Regions from separate parts of the Homo sapiens genome. Here region 1 is linked to region 2. Evidence: promoter capture Hi-C in 16 types of primary human blood cells and fetal thymus (Javierre and others, 2016). All regions are on one chromosome and are shown on one strand. Each heading gives the region's core, a stretch centred on a gene start or on the middle of the fragment in contact. The rest is flanking DNA. Distances are from core to core; before and after follow the strand shown.

Evidence for each region. The method cuts DNA at HindIII sites, captures the fragments that hold promoters and counts their contacts. A CHiCAGO score of 5 or more calls a contact.
Region 1: a fragment that was not itself captured here is called in contact with the fragment with the promoter of APP in region 2 in 4 of 17 cell types (total B cells, fetal thymus, naive CD4 T cells and 1 more); the score reaches 9.2 in total B cells.

What each region holds. Positions count from the first base shown.
Region 1 is chr21:26,683,599-26,687,563 of GRCh38, forward strand. No RefSeq gene overlaps it. Among named protein-coding and RNA genes, the nearest start is that of CYYR1, 110 kb to the left of the region's middle. The HindIII fragment of the contact is 1,423 bases long and covers 2,004-3,426 here.
Region 2 is chr21:26,169,423-26,173,839 of GRCh38, forward strand. APP (amyloid beta precursor protein) reads right to left here and starts at 1,348. Exons shown (of 18, transcript NM_000484.4): 1 at 1,142-1,348. The coding sequence starts at 1,198. APP-DT (APP divergent transcript) reads left to right here and starts at 1,445. Exons shown (of 4, transcript NR_186396.1): 1 at 1,445-1,630. RefSeq lists enhancers at 1-60, 559-1,083 and silencers at 101-370, 871-1,700. The HindIII fragment of the contact is 2,642 bases long and covers 1-1,833 here.

The DNA.
Region 1 (3,965 bases), core at 1,465-3,964, 520 kb after region 2:
TTGCATTTACTAGCAACTGCAGTTCAGCATTCCTGATTTTATATACACAGCACACACACATATACCCATACATATACATTTATATGTATATATTCTGTTCTCTCTTGAACTGCTTTTAACATCTTACTGATTGTCTCAGCCATTAATTCCCTCACTTTAATCCTTGTTCATTTCATATTTGAACAAGAATCATAATTTTGCCTTTTTGAAAATTTAACATTAGCAGCAGGATAGATTGTCTGGGGAAGAAGTTTGTAAGTCTAGAGATCAATCAAGACTGTTTTAAGGAATTCTATCCCTCAGTACTCAAAGTAGGAAGTTGAGGTCCTACATTTGGGTAACCAGCATATTTTGGAAAATAATGGAAAACCTGAGACGTTTTGAAAGCAAAACCAGAACAGAATTTTTTTTGGGTGTATATATAGACAAGTCAGAGGTAAAGTTGTAGCTCGTAAGCCACTCGAGGGAAAGCAAAGATCTGGGCCACCCTTGATCTTTTTTCTAAGACATGATCTAATATTTTATGAAATGTATCCCCAGGAGGCTTAGGTGACTTGCTTCATTCTCTCCTCTGGGAGTGTTCCTTGCATCATATTGTGCCAGGGAGTTGCTGCCAGGTCTTAGAAGTTGCTTGGATAGTTTACAAATGGGGAAGTACATATTGATAAAGCTGGAAAAAACCTTGGGGAAAAAAAAACAAGTGAAAATACCTCAGCAACAACATACTGTTAAAAATTTCTATTTACCTCTTGTCAACAAATACATCTTTAAATACACAAACATTTTTAAACATTTAAATACAAATACTTTTAAACATATTACTGTGATGGGAAGAATGTAAGCAACCTGTGTTCAATGAAAATAAAAAGTGATGTAATTTATGACATTCATTCAATGGAGTATTATTTATTCATGAAAAAGTATGCTTGTGAAATTGGTATTTTAACAGTCATTTATGGTATGATTTATATGGCAGATTACTAAATTGCAAATAAAATTTGACTTCAACTAAGTAAAACAGACAAACAAAAATATGTATCTGCTGATTGAGACTCCAATGTTGGCCCCAGAAATTTGTATTTATGAATTTCTTTCAGATAATTCTGTTCAGCAACAAGATTTGGGGATCATTATTCAAATTCAACAGATTCTGATTCACAATAATTTATTTAGCAATCTGCTGTCTTCCTGCCTACTGATACATTTATCATTTCAGAAGAGAGAGCAACTTGCATGATTTTAATAGGGTAAATTTTTGGGAAATTTTGATTTCTTAGAAATTTATTCAGTAAATATGATCGAGCATCTACTATGTGTGAGACATGATCACAGAGGCACTGAGGATACATCAACAAACTCCAAACTTGGTAAACATAATAAGTAATATTCACCCTTTATTTAAACTGAGTCACTAGAATGTAAATTACTATACGTACATTCCAGTGGCTTAAATTCTAATGACTCAATGTAAATACATGAAGAGAGAACTTTACATGTTAATGTCCCTTATCTAAAGGAATAACGTGTATGTATGACAGAGTAGCTTCTCTACATTCTTGCCCAAGCATAGCAGCTTTAGCAAACGTGTACATAAGGCTGCCTATGTATCCAGCACTATTCTAAGCATTTCATATGCATCAGGATAGTTAATCACATTTTATTATAGTAGAGTAAAAGATGACAGGATAGTATATTCTGTCTTTACCAGCCCCTCACCCAACACTCAGCTGCTCACTCACTCACGGACAAGAATGCCTGAGGAAGCCCTGGTCATTTCACTCAACATTCCCTCTACTTTGACTGTGCTGGGAAGTCTTTACCTCTTTTCCACTATCAGCAATCCCCCCTCTTTCTTTCCAATTTTCTTCTTTTCCAGTCAACGACTACATGCCCACTAAAGGAGGGCTCTAAGAAGTGGTCCTCCACCTGCAATATCTCATATAAAATCTGCTGTAGGTCTATGATGGAGGAATTCATACAGTGTTTAAAGATAAGAAATACAAAGCTTAGAATGCTGAAAGGTTCATAACTAGCTTCAAACTCTGTATTATGGTTAATTTCCATGTGTGATTTACAAGTGATACTAATATGCTCTTGATTTGTTTTCTAAAATTAGGATCTTAAGAACCACTGGGTTGGTGAAAGAAGTATTGGATGAATCTGTGTTTTCCAAATTCAACCAACTTGGACAAACATAGTAGATGCAAGTTATTAGTAAGGTTCTAGTTATCTGCTTGGATAAAAGCCTCATGAGTGTTCATTATCTTGTTATGCTTTATAACAGACATATGTTACTCTATTATATATATGTTATCTATAAGATATATATAATGTTATATATAATATCAATTAAATTAAAATAGATCAAAAAAAGGAAAACAATAATACAAATATGCCCATTTAAAAATCTGGATAGAATAAACAACACAATTGAATGATAACCTTAGCATATTATATTTGAAAATATACAAATTCTAAGCTACAGTTTATCCCTTCCTCATTTCTTAGATCACTGCGGTTGGAACACTAGTTTTTTAGTAGAACTTATATTTCTATCATCGTAAGTTTTGGTTGCATAAGGTTATTAATAGTTAAACAGGTTTCTTTGCTGCTTGATATATTTATTATTTAAGGTGCAGGTTTAGCTAAGCTGCAAAACTATAGTGGCTTAAATAAGATATAAATGTATTTCTCTTGCATATTTGGTCCAGTGTTGGGCAGAATATCTAGGGCAGGTAGGAGGCTCTAGATTTCATCTCTGAGTATAAGTAGCTCCTAAATTGTTACTTCTTCCTGACTTCAGAATGTGAAGTGAAAGTAAGCAGCTTCCTTTCCAAAGAAGTGATTCGCAGGTGCACATGTCACTTCCTCTCATGCCCCATTAGCCACGTGACCACAACCAGATGCAAGGAAGGCTGGGAATTGTAGTTGCTAGATGGGGCAGTAGGAGTGAGGAGGGACCCCAGGGATTCTACGATTACAATGAGGGAGGAAAAAAAATGGATATTGGGCAGATAATATTGAATCCTGAAAAACAAACTCTAAATATGGAAAAAGTGAAGCATCCTTTAAGTCCTTTAATGTAGATGTAGAATCTGCTCTTCAGTGGTCCTAATAAAGCAGGGCTTTGTATTTCATCGTCCTTTTCATTCATAAAAGATACTCATTTTTGGTGTGTGTTTGTGTGTGTGCATGTTTGCGCACGCGTGCATGTTCATGTGTGCTATCAATGGCTTTAATTTGATTGAAGATAAAATTAATACTAGGAACTGAAATACTTTCGAGATAGGCTGTGCACAGTATGACGTCACCACTTTAGCTGTCTTATCAAATTCAGAGCATACAATTCATGTAATCCTTGTTTCCCTTCCACATTGACCAAGGTAAGATAATTCCAAACATAGCTTAAAGAAATGTCTTATACTAAGCTTCAGAAAATATCAGAAAGTTGCATTATCAGCAATGCTAATGTAGCAAAAAGCAGGTGGGCTCATGCCAATGTTCTCCTGAGAGATGGTTATGGAAGTAGATTGTGGTAATTAATGAGTGAGCAGTTGAAGAGTAATAAAAAAGAAAAAGTTTAATTAGGAGTAAATGGTAAGGGAGTTTAAGCATTGGAGGAATAATATTAACATTGTGGGAAGTAGATTGAATTATGTTTAAGATCCAAAAATATTTGAAGCTATCATCTTATTTCCCTCTTTATGTCACGCCTAAGTAGGAATCTATATGAAGCTACTTTTACATCATACAGTTTGTTTATTCCTTTATTATTAGTGAATTGCTTTAGACTAACTCTATCATACTTCCAATTTTGTTATCTACATGATTTCATTGTCCTTTGATATAAATCTACTTTTCCTAGCTTGTGAGCAAAATTTAGCTAACATAAAATCTTATTTATGTATTTATTTAATTAATTAATTTATTTTTTTGAGACAGAGTCTTGCCCTGTTGCCCAGGCT
Region 2 (4,417 bases), core at 98-2,597:
CCGCGCCTTAATCAGACAAACGCCTCCTTGGATGCACAGGACAGAGCCCGTGCCTCCCCACCATCCGCCACTGCCCTTTCCAGACGCACATCCCACTCTCCGCCTTATTTCCTCCCCGCCAAGGACTTTACAGCCCAGCACAGAATTAAGCCTCGGAGGTGATCCGAGGGTGGGAAGCAGAGGGGCCCCGAGGCTCCGCCAGAAGCCCCGGCAGCGTCTCTGCCCCCTCCCAGGCGGACGCGCAGCCCCGGGAAGGGAGCCGGGCGGGAGCCTCGGTGGCGCACTGAGACTAACGCGGCTCGGCCCACGGCGAGGGCGGGGTGTCGCGGCTTTTGTTCCCGCGGACCTTCTGCCTCTCAGACAGAGCTTAGGGTGCGAGCGAACTCCCGGGACGTCCAGACTTGGGGAAGGCGCGGGGTGGCTATGGGTCTCCGACCCCTCCCATTTCTCGCAAGTTACACAAAAGGGAGACGCGGACATGCACAAAGTTTGCCTGTGGAAGGCGGTGCGCGACCCCGACGCCGGCTCGGGCTAGGGTCGCACCCAGGCTGCCGCCGCCAGCAGCCGCGAAAAGAGGTTGGAGCAAGGAAGGGGGATGGGGGTGAGAGAGGAAGGTGAAACGAGGCGGAGAACGCAGGGAAAAGCGAGGGGCTCCTAGCTTCCTGGGCTGTCCCGACTCCTCCTCCTCCTCCCCAGGGCCCAAGAGAAAGGAAAGGGCAACGATTCAAGAGCGAAGGACTGGCTTTAGGGACGCTGCGTTTTCGGTTTTCCCCACGTGCTCCTTCCCCCTTCCCCCCTGTCTGAATGTCTCTCGCCTCCCCCGACCCCCGCTTCCAAGGCAGGGACTAAGTCGGGGTCTGGGCTCAGGGTCGCCCCCTACCCTTCTCGCCCCGGGCTGGCGCGGAACCAGGGAGACCAGCGCCTCGCCCGCTCCCTCTCAGCGGGCCGGAGCGCGACTCCCTGGGGCAGGGCTGGGCCGAAAGCGGGGATGCGCTGGACGTCCGCAAGCGGGGGCGGAGAGGAGAGGGGTCCCATTGACGGACCCCCGGCTTCTCTGCATTAAAGACTTGGGTTAAGGTCTTGGGGGGTATCGCGTCCCCACCGTGCAGCCTCCCCCCGCCTTCCGAGGCGCGGCACCCACCTCCAGCGCCCGAGCCGTCCAGGCGGCCAGCAGGAGCAGTGCCAAACCGGGCAGCATCGCGACCCTGCGCGGGGCACCGAGTGCGCTGCTGTGCGAGTGGGATCCGCCGCGTCCTTGCTCTGCCCGCGCCGCCACCGCCGCCGTCTCCCGGGGCCCCCGCGCACGCTCCTCCGCGTGCTCTCGCCTACCGCTGCCGAGGAAACTGACGGAGCCCGAGCGCGGCGGCGGGGCTCAGAGCCAGGCGAGTCAGCTGATCCGGCCCACCCCGCTCGGCACCCGAGAGAGACCCCTAGCGGCGCCGCCGGGGAACTGCGCCCGCTCGCGCCGGGAGGGGCCCTCGCGCCCCGCGCCCACAGGTGCACGCGCCCTTGGCGCCGCCTGCACCCCACGCGCCCCCTCCGCTCCCCGGCCGACGGCCCACCTGGGCTTCGTGAACAGTGGGAGGGAGAGTCTGGGGCCAGGAGAGGGACGGTGCAGGATCAGGGAAAGGTGAGTCCTAGGACGCTGAGGCTCTAGAAAAGTCGAGAGCGCTCCTGCTCGTCCCCGTGAGCTTGAATCATCCGACCCCGCAGGCCTCCCGGGGGTGTCGTATAAAGGACTGCTGCTAGGGTGCGTTTTTATCCGCATTTCGTTTTTTCTCTCGGTTTGGAGAGGTGGGGCAGGCGTTTCTGGAAGAGAATGAGAACGAGTGAAGCTTAAAGGAAATAGGATTTTCTTTGCTTGTTGAGACAGCAAAACCTCATTTTTTAACCCCCAACGTCAAAAGCAGGCACGAGCAACCTGGAATTTCTATCTTTAGAACGAACCAAAGGAGCAAGGCGCAGGACCTGGCAAAGAAGCGGCCAACCCATTTACTTCTTCTTGAAAGCAGGGTTCTGGGCTTGGGTTTTGTTTCTTTCTTATATTTTTGTTTGTTTTTGGTTTTGTTTTGTTAAAGGGGGTGGTCAGTGTGGATTTTGCGGGGCGGGGGGTCTTTTTTTGTTGTTAAGCAGGGATGTAACATCCATCTGAGTTGGGGAAGAAGGAAAAATTAGGAGAGATCATTCGTATTCGACCCCCGTAAATGAGGACTTCTGACCTCAAACGCTGCCCTTGTTCTTCATTGTGTCTGTCCTGAATTATAGAAATGAACCTTCTGCCATGCCACTTTCTCCTGGATTAAACACAAACCGTCCACTGTCCAGTTAGTGTCCAGATAGTTTAGAATGCTCTAGAACTGCCCAGATATATCCCCTGCTCTTGACCTGAAGTAGCATTTAGTTACCAAGCCACAGCCCACTCCACACAGGGCTTGGAGCGAAGGACTGAAGCCAGGGAGTGCTCTGGCCCTTCTGAGGGCTGCACTGCAGCCTGCCTTCTCTCCCTTGCTCATTGCGCTGACAAGGGTGCCTAGGCCCGGGAAGGATGGCTCAGCCAGCGGGGTACAGACTTCCTTCCTGGGAAGTCATTTCTGTACCAGCTCCCCTAAATGTTGTCTTGTGTGTCTTTTCCCGCACTAGGCATTCAGTCTTGACTCTTGGATTACTTTTGCCCCTGAATGTCCTTTGGATGTCCTCAACAAATAAGGACAAATATTTATTGTCATGCAGTATTTGTTTATACGCTTCATGTCATTTACTTCCTACAAAAGCCAAAGAGGCTGTTACTATTATTCCTATTTATACATCAGGAAAATGAAGCTAATGAACTCCCAAATCTAATAGCAAGTAAGTGACATGAAGCTGGGACAGCAGGGAAAAGCCTAAAGTGACAGGACAAACCCAGTTGTTCACTTTCTGCACCACATTTACCCACCGCAATTCCGTATTTGTTCCGGGTCTGCATGAGCAAATAAGGCAAAAAAGAAGGTATCTGAATGCAAAGAGAAACGTGGTCCAAAGCTACAAATCTTGCAGAGTCCACTGCAAAATGCAAACGTGAGACCCTTTGTTACATTATTAAGAATTTTAAGGCCGGGCCTGGTGGCTCATGCCTGTAATCCCAGCACTTTAGGAGGCCCAGGTGGGCAGATCACCTGAGGTCAGGAGTTCTAGACCAGCCTGGCCAACATGGTGAAACCCCCATCTCTACTAAAAATGCAAAAATTAGCCGAGCGTGGTTACTCCTGCCTGTAATCCCAGCTACTCCAGAGGCTGAGGCAGGAGAATCGCTTGAACCTGGGAGGCGGAGGTTGCAGTGAGCCAAGATTGTGCCATTGCACTCCAGCCTGGGCGACAGAGCGAGACTCCACCTCAAAAAAAAGAAAAAAAATTAAATTAAGAATTTTAAGATGGCAATGGCAGAGCGTTAAACCAAGCATGGGGCTCCTCCCACCGCAGGGCCTGTGAGACTCTCCAGGGTTGCATGCCCATGAAGCCAGCCCTGGGAAGGAGGAGGCAACTTTAAGAGTGAGGGACTTTTCTTTGGGAGGCTGAGGCGGGCGGATCACGAGGTCAGGAGATCAACACCATCCTGGCTAACACGGTGAAACCCCGTCTCTACTAAAAATACAAAAAATTAGCCGGGCGTCGTGGCGGGCGCCTGTAGTCCCAGCTACTGGGGAGGCTGAGGCAGGAGAATGGCGTGAACCCGGGAGGCTGAGCTTGAAGTGAGCCGAGATCGCGCCACTGCACTCCAGCCTGGGCGACAGAGCGAGACTCCGTCTCAAAAAAAAAAAAAGAGAGTAAGGAACTTTTATTGAGCATGAAATTCAAAATTGTAGAGATGAGATCATAATCTATAAAAATTAAAGTTCTTAGATTTAGCAGTTTCTCTTTCCACTGTTGAAATTCACCACACTGACACATTCCCTGGTCAAGATGTTCCTGGGGGAAGATGATTATGCTGCTGATTGCGTCAGAATGATGGACATTGCCTGCATGTTCTCTGGTTCCTTCACTACTCAGAGATCCTGATGGCTTTTTGCTTTTCAGCCACTAGCTCTGTTCTGCATTTAATGCCATTTCCTGCCCTGAGGTGTCTTGCAGATCCTCCAAGCAGAAAACGCAGGAACATCCCTAGTTATAACCCTACAAAGTTGGGGAAGGAACCAACAACCACTTGTCTGCTGGAATTCCTACAACAGCATCCCCATCCTAGTTTCAAGTGTCTCCATTTGTGAGATATTCACTGGCTCTCCAGACTGTGCATTCTATCTTTGGGCATTTCTGGTTACTAGAATGTTCTTATCCCATTTAAAGCTCACATCCCCCGCCTTTAAACTCCCACTCAGATATCCTTGTATCCCCAGTGACCAAGCAGAATAATTCTTTTCCACACTTCAGATCTTTACAAATT